3 separate regions of the Homo sapiens genome follow, and regions 1 and 2 are each linked to region 3. Evidence: promoter capture Hi-C in human tissues and cell types (Jung and others, 2019). All regions are on one chromosome and are shown on one strand. The core of a region is centred on a gene start or on the middle of the fragment in contact, and the rest is flanking DNA. Distances in the headings are between cores, read along the strand shown. Region 1 overlaps FHOD1 (formin homology 2 domain containing 1). Region 2 overlaps KCTD19 (potassium channel tetramerization domain containing 19). Region 3 holds the start of THAP11 (THAP domain containing 11).

Region 1 (3,945 bases), core at 828-3,327, 610 kb after region 3:
GGATCTCCTCCTCCTGTGGTTTCCTTTGTCTCCTCCGACGTTCTGCCTGTCTTTGCCTCTTGTCATGTCTCCCGCCCACTATCTGTCACTCCCTTGTTCTGCTGCCTCTGTCTCTTCCAGCACCCTGTCCTGCTCCACGTCAGTCTCTCCCCTCCACTTCCAGTTTCCTCGTGTCATACCTTCCCCCACTTCCCACTGCGGCTGGGAAGGAACCCCAATATCACTGCCTAGCTCTGTGTGGGTATGAGCAACCATGGAGCTGACACCACAGTTACCATCTCTTCCTCTCATCCCCCCTACCCAGGGCCCCTGAGAGCCCACCCGTCCCCCAGTCCCCTCCTGGGCAGGCCAGGCTGGAGTAAGTACAGAGGCCGGCCTGCCAGGCCTGCCATGTGCTCAGGGCTTCAGCATTGCTTCCCCCAGCAGGGGTTTCACGTGCCTGATGCAACCAAAGCTGGGGGACTCAGGCCTATCCTCTCCCAGACATATGCCTCCTCGGTAACCCAAAGGCTAAGCACTGGGAACCAATTCACTGGGGTCACAGTGGTCCCTGTGCTTCAATAGCAACACCTTAGCAGCCAGAGATGGGGATGTGGACACCCAACCTGGGGCTCATTCTGCCAAGTCTTCAGCTCAGAAGCGAGCAGGGAGGGGACCTAGGGTGCTGTGTGGTGTGTGGTGTGGGGGTGGAGGGGTAACCTAAGGCTGAGGGAAAGGCAGGGACTGAGAGCTGACAGAGGCTGGAGGGGCCAGAAAAGAAACACTGGATTGCACCCATTATTTCAGCATAAACTGAGGGTCCACTGTTTACCACATCCGTTTTTTTTTTGTTTTTTTTTTTTTTGAGACAGAGTCTTGCTCGGTCTCCAAGGCTGGAGTGCAGTGGTGTGATCTCAGCACACTGCAACCTCTGCCTCCCAGGTTCAAGCAATTCTCCTGCCTCAGCCTCCCAAGTAGCTGGGATTATAGGCCTGCACCAGGATACCTGGGTAATTTTTGTATTTTTAGTAGAGACAGGGTTTCACCATGTTGGCCAGGCTGGTCTCGAACTCCTGACTTCAAGTAATCCACCCACCTCTGCCTCCCAAAGTGCTGGGATTACAAGCGTGAGCCACCGCACCTGGCCTGTTTACCAGGCCCTTTCCTGGGCATAGGCTCCCAGAAGCTACCAGACATGCCAAGGGAGGGACAGCCTGATATGCCCATTGGGACAGCTATCCCCTTCCCCTGCTCTAAGAGTCCTTGTCTAGACTCAAGACACCAGCCTGGGCAACACAGTAAGACCTCATCTCTACAAAGAAATTTTTTAAAATTTGGCTGGGTGCATCATTCACACCTGTAATCTCAGCACTTCAGGAGGCTGAGGTGGGAGGACTGCTTGAGGCCAGGAATTCAAGGCCAGCCTGAACAACACAGTGAGACCCTGTCTCCTCAAAAAAATTAAAAAATCAGCTGGACGTGGTGGCACATGTCTGTAGTCCCAGCTACTTGGGAGGCTGAGGGTCAAGCCCAGGAGAGTGAGGCTGCAGTGAGCTATGATCACACCACTGTACTCCAGCCTGGGTGACTGACAGAGTGAGACCCTGTCTCTAAAAAAAAAACCAACCAAAAAAAAACCAGGACAGTGAACATGAACGAGGTTGCAAGTTAGATGTTAAGTAGATCCTCTCCCTGTGTTTTCACCTGGGAATGCTGGGTTGGTAGTAATCCTCCCCAGATGTGGAGGACTGAAGAGGGGCTGGCCTTGGGGGGGGTGTGGTTCTGGTCTGCTCAGCGCATGGACTGTTCCCTGTGTGTCTGTGCGTGCCTGCAATTGGGGGTGGTGTCCAGGGGCTCAGCAAGGCATGTACACCTGGGCTGGGGTGTGTCAGACGCTGTCAGTGACAAGCACCTTCCCTCAGAGCCCGGTTCCTGGAGAATGTGGCGGCAGCAGAAACAGAGAAGCAGGTTGCGCTGGCCCAGGGCCGGGCAGAGACACTTGCCGGGGCCATGCCCAATGAGGCGGGTGGACACCCAGGTGAGTAGGTGGGTGAGCAGGCAGAGCCTGCCTGTTGCTTTGTTGCCCCACAGGGGGCATGGCACTGACAGCTCCTTCCCTTTCTTTAGATGCCCGGCAACTCTGGGACTCCCCAGAGACAGCCCCTGCAGCCAGAACACCCCAGAGCCCTGCCCCCTGTGTCCTGCTCCGGGCCCAGCGAAGCCTTGCACCAGAGCCCAAGGAGCCACTGATACCAGCAAGCCCCAAGGCTGAGCCCATCTGGGAGCTCCCTACCCGTGCACCCAGGCTCTCTATTGGGGACCTGGACTTTTCAGATCTAGGGGAGGATGAAGACCAGGACATGCTGAATGTAGAGTCTGTGGAGGCTGGGAAAGACATCCCAGCTCCCTCACCCCCACTGCCCCTGCTCTCGGGAGTACCCCCCCCTCCCCCACTTCCACCTCCCCCACCCATCAAAGGCCCCTTCCCACCACCTCCACCTCTACCTCTGGCTGCCCCTCTTCCCCATTCAGTGCCTGACAGCTCAGCCCTCCCCACTAAGAGGAAGACAGTAAAACTTTTCTGGCGTGAGCTGAAGCTGGCTGGGGGCCATGGAGTCTCTGCAAGCCGCTTTGGGCCCTGCGCCACCCTCTGGGCTTCACTGGACCCTGTCTCAGTGGACACGGCCCGACTGGAACACCTCTTTGAGTCTCGTGCCAAAGAGGTGCTGCCCTCCAAGGTAAATCCACTCATCTGCAAGGTAGCCCCAAGGGAGGCAGGAGGGAATCAGAGCTTAAGGATCTGACCTGTTGGAGCTAGTCACTCACTTCCCACATGGGGAAACCAAGGCAAAGAAAGGAGTAGGAAATTGTCCAAGGTCTCCTAACAAGGGATCAGCAGTGCCCCAACTAGAATCTAAATGTGGCCGGGCATGGTGGCTCACACCTGTAATCCAAGAGTTTGAGACCAGCCTGTGCAACATAGTGAGACATTATCTCTACTAAAAGTTGGTCTGGGTGTAGTGGCTCATGCCTGTAATCCCAGGACCTTGGGAGGCCGAGGCAGGTGGATCATTTGAGGTCAGGAGTTCGAGACCAGCCTGGTCAAATTAGCAAAACCCCGTCTCTACTAAAAACACAAAATTAGCCAAGCGTGGTGGCGGGCACCTGTAATCCCAGCTACTCGGGAGGCTGAGGCAGGAGAATCACTTGAACCCGGGAGGTAGAGGTTGCAGTGAGTCGAGATCGCACCATTGCACTCCAGCCTGGGGGACAAGAGCAAGACTTCGTCTCAAAAATAACTAAATAAATAAAAATAAATAAATGTTAAAAAAAAAATTAGCCGGGCATGGTGGCTCACCCCTGTAATCCCAGCACTTTGGGAGGCCAAGGCAGGCAGATTACTTGAGGCCAGGAGTTTGAGACCAGCCTGGCCAACATGGTGAAACCCCGTCTCTACTAAAAATATGAAAATGAGCTGGGCGTGGTGGCTCATGCCTGCAATACCAGCTACTTGGGAGGCTGAGGCAAAAGAATTGCTTGAACCTGGGAGGCGGAAAAAAAAATGTTAAAAAAAAAAATAGTTGGGTATGGTGGTACACGCCTGTAATCCCAGCTACTTGGGAGGCTGAGGCAGGAAAATCCCAGAAGATAAGCTGCAGTGGGCGATGATGGCACCACTGCACTCCAGCCTAGATGGTAGAGCCAGGCCCTGTCTCAAAAGAATCTAAGCTCATCCCCATGACTTACACATTCCAGGTTGCCAGTTTGTCAGTTGTGGGATCATTTGGCAATCTAGAGGAGGGCCTTGGAGTGCCCTCTGAGGTTGCTGTCCCAGCTAGTCCCTTCCTCAGTCTTTTTTTTTTTTTTTTTTTTTTTGAGACAGAGTCTTGCTCAGTCACCCAGGATGTAGTGCAATGGTGTGATCTCAGCTCACTGCAAGCTCCGCCTCCCGGGTTCACGCCATTC
Region 2 (3,915 bases), core at 87-2,586, 520 kb after region 3:
TATTGAGTTTAAGAGTTCTTTATATATTCTAAAAACAAGTTCTTTATCAGACAAATGATTTGCAAATATTTTGTTCCATTCTGTGAGTTATCTTTTCACCTTCTTGATGGTGCCCTCTAAAGCACAAATGTTTTTAAATTTTGATTAAGTTCCATTTATCTATTTTTTTGGTCACTTTTGCTTTTAGTGTCACATCTAAGAAAGTTTTGCCTACTCCAAAGTCATGAAGATTTTCTATTTTCTTCTAAAGATTTTATGGTTTTAGGCTGGGTGCAGTGGCTCACGCCTGTAATCCCAGCACTTTGGGAGGCCAAAGCAGGTGGATCACGAGGTCAGGAGATCGAGACCATGCTGGCTAACACAGTAAAACCCCATCTCTACTAAAAATACAAAAAATTAGCCGGGCGTGGTGGCGGGTGCCTGTAGTCCCAGCTACTCAGGAGGCTGAGGCAGGAGAATGGAGTGAACCCGGGAGGTGGAGTTTGCAGTGAGCCGAGATTGTTACCACTACACTCCAGGCTGGGTGATACAGCGAGACTCCGTCTCAAAAAAAAAAAAAAAAAGATTTTATAGTTTTAGGTCTGTTTCACTTGCAGCTAATTTTTGTGTATGGGTTGAGGTAGGGGTCCAACTTTATTATTATTGTTATTATTATCTTTTATGCATATGGATGGGCAGTTGTCCCAGCACCATTTTTAATAAGGACTATTCTTTGTCCATTGAATCATCTTGGATTGCTTATCAAAATTCAATTGATCATAAGTGTAGGGGTTTTATTCTGTACTCTCAATTCTATTCCACTTATCTTTATATTTATCCTTATGCTGGTAGCACACTGTCTTGATCTAGCTTTGAAATAAGTTTTAAAAGTGTGGGATGTGAGGGTGATCTGGCTGTGACATCTGTCACTCCATTGATTGCCAGGGTTGATTTGGCTGATCTGGCTGTCTAGGCGGGTGTCCCCTTCTTCCCTCAACGCTCCACGTGCGTCCCTCCTGAAGCTGCGTGCTCAGTCAAAGAGGACGACCATCCCCAATAAAGGAGGACCAGTCTTCAGTCAAGGGTATACAAGTATCTGCTCTTCCTAGCTAGAACCTCCAAACAAGTTCTTAAGATCCGTTGTAGGAGAACGTAGGGTAGTCAAGCTTCCAAGACTTCAGACACATCCTAATGAGGCGCTGCATGTGGCAGTCTGCCTTTAAAAAAAAAAAGTGGGAAATGTGACTTCTTAAACGTTCTCCTTTTTTCAAGACTGTTTTAGCTATTCTGGATCCCTTGTATTTTCATATGAATTTTAGCATCAGTTTTTCAATTTTTGCAAAAAGTCAGGATTTTCACAGAGATTGTGTTGAATTTGTAAATCAATTGGGAGACTATTGCCATCTTAACGATATTAAATCTTCCAATCCATGAGCATGAGATATTTTTTCATTTATTTAGGTCTTTTAAATTTTCAACAATGTTTTGAAGTTTCCAGTGCACATGTATTTCATTCTTTTGTTAAATTTATTCCTAAGTATGTTATTTTTGATGCTATTGTAAATGGAATTGAATTGTTTTCTTAATTTCACTTTCAGATTGTTCATTGCTGAAGTATAAAAATACAACATTTTTAAATATTGCTCTGCATCTTTCAACCTTGTTGGGCTCATTTTTTTGTTTGTTTTTCTTTTTTGAGACAGGATCTTGCTCTGTTAGGCCAGAGTACAGTGGCACAATCATAGCTCACTGCAACCTCAAACTCCTGGTCTCAAGCCACCTTCCCACCTCAGGCTCCCAAAGTGCTTGGATTACAGGTGTGAACCACCATGCCTGGCCTGGACTTATTTCTAATAGTTTTCTGGTGAATTCCTTAGGATTTTTTATATACAAGATCATGTCATCAGCAAACAGAGATAGTTTATTTCTACCTTTTCAATCTGGATGCCTTTTTATTTCTTTTTCTTGCGTAGATCTCTTTTTCATTCCCCCTTTAGGAGGAGTCTGGCATGGCTCATGAATCAGCAGAGGACTTGTTTCATTTCAACGTAGGGGGCTGGCATTTCTCAGTTCCCAGAAGCAAACTCTCTCAGTTTCCAGACTCCCTGCTGTGGAAAGAGGCTTCAGCCTTGACCTCTTCAGAAAGCCAGAGGCTATTTATCGACAGAGATGGTTCCACATTTAGGCACGTGCACTATTACCTCTACACCTCCAAACTCTCCTTCTCCAGTTGTGCAGAACTGAACTTGCTGTATGAGCAAGCATTGGGTTTGCAGCTGATGCCTTTGCTGCAGGTAAGATGCTCTTGTTTTCTGGGAGTGGTGGATCAGTAACATGGCTTTACATCACTAAATATTGTTTCCTGTTATATATTGGTTGCTGAGATGACCCTCTTAATGGGCAAATGTAATAAGTGTGTTAAAGTAATAAATAATTTCCTCATTAGTATAGGGGTGAGTAAAAAGGAAAAAAAAGTAATAAACAATACACTGAAATTACCTGCTTTTGTTTTTTCGAGACAGGGTGTCTGCTGCAATCACAGCTCACTGCAACCTCCACCTCCCAAGCCCAAAGGATCTTCCCACCTCCCACCTCAGTCCCTCTGAGTAGCTGGGAACACAGGTGCATGCCACCATGCCCGGCCAATCCTTTCCATGTTGACCAGATTGGTCTTGAACTCCTGGGCTCAAGTCGTCCTCTCTAATTGGCCTCCCTAAGTGCTCCCTCAGCCTCCCTAAGAGCTGGGATTACCGGCATGAGCCACTACACCCCGCCTATATGTTCTTAATAAATGATTTCATCCCAACTGTGCTTTAGTTAGACTAGCAGCCACCATGGACCCAGAATGGGATTTACTATCCACTGAGAGGGTGCCCCTGGCTCTTGAAAATCCTATATTAAGCTACTTCTTGTTTTTTGTTTTTTGAATCTTAAAAGGAGAACACTTTAGATATTTTAGGATTTGCTATGTACATCATGTCTGAGATTTAAAATCTAAAAGATTTATCAAGAATATCACCTCTCATTGTGTCTGTTAGGTACACAACATGCATTTACACCAAAGCAAAAAGTTCTAATCTTGGGCCAAATGTCAAGAGAGAGAAAAAAAAAAACAAGTTCTGCAGAATCTTTCCTTTACCATCACTTCTTTGTCTTCCAAGAAACTTTATTATTATTATTATTATTATTATTATAAGAGCTTTAAATACCTTTACTTATAAACCATTAAAGTACTGCTAAAAACATTACCTTTCTTTCCTAATTTTTCTCCAAGCCACAGAAATCATTTTTGTGGCTGATCTTAAGTAGTTTATTCAGTAGTTTTTGAACAATTCTTTTTAACCTGGAAGAACTAAATATTACAACTGGGAAGGACCATTGAACATCCTCCGTATTAATCCTACCATCTGTACAAGGTGTTTATTCCGTCTCTATCAGCACTAACCCAACAAGCTGCAGTGTAGCTCAGTGTACCACCAACTGTGCCTCAACACTTTTTAGAAGAAAATTGAGATAGATCATGCGTATCTGGGCCATAGAGGAATGAGAACATTTCATAGTGCATGTTTTCATGGATGCTTACTAAATAATTCAGTGTTTTCTCTTAAAAGTCATTCTATATTTGGAAATCAGAAATTTTCTTTTTTTTTTTTTTCTTCGAGATGGAATTTCGCTCTTGTTACCCAGGCTGGAGTGCAATGGCGCCATCTCGGCTCACTGCAACCTCCGCCTCCCAGGTTCAAGTGATTCTCCTGCCTCAGCCTCCTGAGTAGCTGAGATTACAAGCACCCGCCACCACTCCTGGCTAATTTTTGTATTTGTAGTAGAGACGGGGTTTCACTATATTGGCCAGGCTGGTCTCGAACTCCTGACCCCAGTTGATCCACCCGCCTCAGCCTCCCAAACTGCTGGGATTATAGGCGTGAGCCACCGCAC
Region 3 (4,468 bases), core at 1,633-4,132:
AGAGCTTTAAAGGCATTTACTTTTAGACATTGGCTTTGAGCTAAATTACTTGGAGCTATAGACAAAAGCAATGTAATCCTTGCCCCTTCAATATTCAATCTAAGAAAAAATAGAGGCTGGGCGGGGTAGCTCACACCTGTAATCTCAGTACTTTGGGAGGCAGAGCAGGCGGATCACCTGAGATCAGGAGCTCGAGACCAGCCTGGCCAACATGGTGAAATCCTGTCTCTACTGAAAATACAAAAATCAGCCCGACGTGGTGGCGGGTGCCTATAATCCCAGCTACTCAGGAGGGTGAGGCAGAAGAATTGCTTGAACCTGGGAGGCAGAGGTTGCAGTGAGCTGAGATCACACCATTGCACTCCAGCCTGGGTGACAAGAGCAAAGCTCCATCTTAAAAAAAAATAAAAAAAAAAAAATAGAGGCAGGCAGCCAAGAAAATGAGTCAAGGAATCACACCTCCCAACTTCTTAATGCTCTCTGTGGATACAGCTCTGTCACACCGAAGGTGTACCAAGGCCAAGGTATCTATACAACAGTCCTTGTGCCTGAAGCAGCCCTGGCTAGCTCCAGCTGCGCTCTTACCGGTTCACAGAGTAACTGCATGCACATGCATACCAGAGGCTGTGCTAAGCCTAAGGGATGTCATGGTGAGCAAAATTCAATCCCAGCTGAGAATTGAAACCCTCAGAGGCGAACTATCACAATATAGCTTAGTTACCAGTTGGTCCTTCTTGTTGAAAGGATACAGGGAGATAATCCATGGACAAACTGGGCCCATTTGGTGCAGTTTCCAAACTCTTTAGGGTGAGCTGGGCCAGGAACTCTGTGAGGACCTTATAAGGCCAGGATCCATGTGCTTAGGGCCCATTTTTGGAAAAACTGGTCATTGAAGCATCTCTACTTTCAGGGTCAGCCTGGTCTTTCAGAAAGGCTGAGGCCTATTTCCCCATGTTTCAAGGACATTTAACTATGTTTTTGTAAAAATAAAATGGCGAGACCCAAATAAAAACCTTACTTTTTGTTTAATTTGTTTTGCCAAACAAACACAGTGAAAACTTTAGTCTGACTAATTGTACAGAAAATAGAATTTGTAACCAGTAGCAAACAAAACAGGATAAACCTAAGTCCCTGGCAAGCTGGATCTCCATCAGCAGGTCATCCAGATCCCCTTGTAAATGGCCTCCTGGGAAAATAAGTCCTAGGAGGCAGAGGCACAGATTTACCAGTCCCCATCAGAATCACAGGCTGCACCTGGGAAGGAAAAGCATGAAAAGGAGGAGAACTGATGTTACTTGAATCTCTTATCACTACACACATTAGAGTTGTCTGACTGCTGACCAACCTTAAGGTATGGTTTTCCCAAACCTATAGTCCCTGGACATCCCACCTGCATCCCTAGAGGGTAAGTTTCAAGTTCAGTGGTTCTGAAGCCTCTGCTTAACCAGAATCTGCAACAATAACTGGGGAGGAAGGGTAGACAAAGTCATAATTGCTGGTGTCACCAGGGCAGAGTCTAAGGCCCCAGCTTCCACTTCAGGAGGAAACAATTGAGGATGCCAGGTCACCAGCAAGAGAGTCCAGCTGCCTTAAGCCTCAGTACTGTCAACCAGTGCCCAGGAGTATAGAGGAGTTCAACAATGGCCTGCGGTCCCCTGGCTGGATGGGGTCTGGGAGTCCAGCAGGCTGCCGGGGCACCAGTTCACATTCCGTGCTTCTTGCGGATGACAGCCATGGCAAGCAGCCGATCCTTCTCACGCAGTTCTTCGCGCAGCTTGGCCTCAGTGAGACGCAGGTGGCGAATGCTGCCTTTCATCTCTTTCATCTTCACTTCCATCAGAGCCAGGATGTCCCGCTGCTCATTCAGCTTGCGCAGGAGCTCCTCCTCCGTGGTGCCTGACGACAAGGAGTACGAATGGTCGGAGCCAGTATCAGGGAAGCCCTCTTCCCCTACCACCACCAACTGGGGGCCCATAGGGCACTCGGCAGCCTCCAGCCCTGCGGTAGCAGCCTGTAACTCCGACGCGGCGGCCGCAGCGGCTGCGCCCTCTGCGGCTGCAAACTCCACTTGCACTGTGAGATCGATGGGCTTCACGTCTTCTCCAGTGGGAGTGATGGGCGCCGGCTGTACGGATCCCGGAGCCTGACTGCTGTCTACAGTGGCCTGAAGGGTGAGAAGCACGGCCGCGGAAGCAGATACCAGGTTCGGCTGCAGCTGGGCAGTCTGGGCAGTGGAGGCAGAGGGTGAGGACTGCTGCTGCTGCTGCTGCTGCTGCTGCTGTTGCTGCTGCTGCTGCTGTTGCTGCTGTTGCTGCTGCTGCTGCTGTTGCTGCTGCTGCCTGCGGCGGGCGGCCGCGGCCCCAGCGGGTCTGCGCGCTACTTTGCGCTCATTGACGCCGCGCAGCGGGAAGATGGTGGGGACGCGTACCGTGTAGGTCTTGCGGCCGCCCTGGAAGTGAACGCTGCAGAGACGGTGGCCTGTGGTGGGCTGGAAGGTGGAGAAGCACCCACTGACGCCGGCACGCGACACGTTCTTGAGCCAGAGGCGCCGCAACTCAGCGTCCTTTGGAAACGTGTAGAAGTGCAGCGCCTTGTCCCGGTGCGAGTTGTTGTAGCAGCCTGGCACGCAGCACGTAAAGCCAGGCATGGCTGCGCCGCGCGGCCCGGCCCGGCCCACCGGCCTCCTGCGCTCTTCGACGGCCCAGTGGCTACGCCGCCGCCCGCCCCTCGACGGGCGGCGCCGCGCGAGGCCTTGGGTGGTATCCCACCACTGCCGCTCGGCGCAGCCGGCCCGCCCGGCGCCCCGTGCCCAGAATACGCTTCCTGCCGGCCCGCGCCGCGCCGCCCGCCTGGCTGCCCGCCTGCGCTCGGGAGTGGGCCCCGGGGACGCCGCGAAGGACCGCCTGAGAAAGAGACTACGCCCCCCACAATGCCCCGCGCCAGAAGCGGCTCACTTCCGGGGCGGGTGTGTGCGGATTCCTGCCGCCTTCCAAGGCACTGCGATAGCCTCCGAAGAGCAGATTCTTTCCCCAGCCCGTCTTGTCCCCGGCGGGCGAGAGAGGCGTATTAGGTTGGAACGCTGTCGCCTGGACTGCTCCTCACGAGGACCCGAATCCTGATAGGGGCGTGGAGCGGGGCGGTGCGCGCCTCACCGGTGCGCAAGCGCGGTGGGTATATGCCCACGGAGACTACAAATCCCGTGATGCCTCGCGCTGAACTAGGCGCCTTCCCTCCGAAGCGCCGCCTAAGGGAAAGATCGAGTTACTGCGGACCAGGATTCGGGCGAGGTTGTGCTGTTTGCCAGAACCAGTTCCCCAGCCCCGAGCCCCTTTGAGTCGACGGCATTGCTGCAGCAGAGGGAGACGAAACCTGGGCCTCGGCGCCCCGAAGGGTCTCAGGAGCCCCTTTCTTTGCGTTGGGGACTCTCTCCTGATTCAGCTGCTGCCTGCGTTGACTAACTGATCTAAACAAAGTCTCCAGTAGACGCCTACTATGTGGCTGACACGGTGCCGGGAGTTTGCGGGAGTCAGACCGACTGGGCTCCTCTCTTGGAGCCTGACTACCTAGACGGATAAGCGTCTGTCTTTTGGATAATAGATCTGAATGCACGCGAATGGATGTCTACTCACAAATAGTAATCGCTCCAAAGGAATTAACAGGAGAGCAGAGAAATGGGGGGGAGGTGGTGGGGGCCAGGAATAAAAAAACGAACGAAAGCTTGGGTAGGGAGAAGTAGCCAATTCTTGTCCCAGGAACCAGTCTGTAAGGCCACATGGCAGAAAAGAGCTAGGCTCCGCCATTAAAGAGCCTGGAAAGGGGTGGCCCGGGTAGGGCCAAGCGTAGGAAAATACCAAACTGGGACATGTTAAGGATTTGGGGTTTTATTCTGCAGGCCACTGAGAGCTATTAAAGGATTTTATGGGAAAGGATTTGCATTGTAACAATACACCTCCCCCCACCTCAACTTATTTGAGGGAATCTTTTTTTTTTTTTTTTTTTTTTTTTTTTGTAAAGGAGTCTCACTGTGTCGCCAGACTGGAGTGCAATGGTGAGATCTCGGCTCACCGCAACCTCCGCCTCCTGGGTTCAAGCAATTCTCCTGCCTCAGCCTCCGGAGTAGCTGGGACTACAGGCGCATGCCACCATGCCCGGCTAATATATATATATATATATATATATATATATATATATGTATTTTGTATTTAGTAGAGACGGGGTTTCGCCATGTTTCTCAGGCTGGTCTCGAACTCGTGAGCTCAGGCAATCTGCTCGCCTCGGCCTCCCAAAGTGCTAGGATTACAGGCGTGAGCTAGGATCACGGCGCCTGGCTGGGGGAAAATGTTTTAAAGAACACAAAATGTTGTGGAAAGCCAGGGAGGGGCCAGGCAGTTCTCCAGGTGAATTACCTGCAAACTAGCCCTCCTTTGCCGAGTTCTTCCTTCTCCCAATTTTTTTTAAACTTTTACTT

What was found. The method cuts DNA at HindIII sites, captures the fragments that hold promoters and counts their contacts. A contact is called where the count stands out against the background at its distance.
Region 1: a fragment that was not itself captured here is called in contact with the fragment with the promoter of THAP11 in region 3 in 1 of the 25 tissues and cell types used here (psoas muscle).
Region 2: a fragment that was not itself captured here is called in contact with the fragment with the promoter of THAP11 in region 3 in 1 of the 25 tissues and cell types used here (aorta).

Annotation. Positions count from the first base shown.
Region 1 is chr16:67,232,429-67,236,373 of GRCh38, reverse strand. It overlaps FHOD1 (formin homology 2 domain containing 1), which reads left to right. Exons shown (of 22, transcript NM_013241.3): 12 at 1,902-2,017; 13 at 2,107-2,717. Among named protein-coding and RNA genes, the nearest start is that of TMEM208, 7.3 kb to the right of the region's middle. The HindIII fragment of the contact is 6,373 bases long and covers 1-3,945 here.
Region 2 is chr16:67,318,947-67,322,861 of GRCh38, reverse strand. KCTD19 (potassium channel tetramerization domain containing 19) reads left to right here. Exons shown (of 16, transcript NM_001100915.3): 2 at 1,977-2,273. It also overlaps the pseudogene RN7SKP118. Among named protein-coding and RNA genes, the nearest start is that of KCTD19, 5.8 kb to the left of the region's middle. The HindIII fragment of the contact is 4,411 bases long and covers 1-3,541 here.
Region 3 is chr16:67,840,734-67,845,201 of GRCh38, reverse strand. THAP11 (THAP domain containing 11) reads right to left here and starts at 2,882. Exons shown (of 1, transcript NM_020457.3): 1 at 1,007-2,882. The coding sequence starts at 2,647. The coding sequence ends at 1,703. All of the region lies in intron 1 of CENPT (centromere protein T), which reads left to right. RefSeq lists enhancers at 1,559-1,608, 2,049-2,208, 1,920-2,666, 3,119-3,168 and a silencer at 2,689-2,868. The HindIII fragment of the contact is 20,232 bases long and covers 1-4,468 here.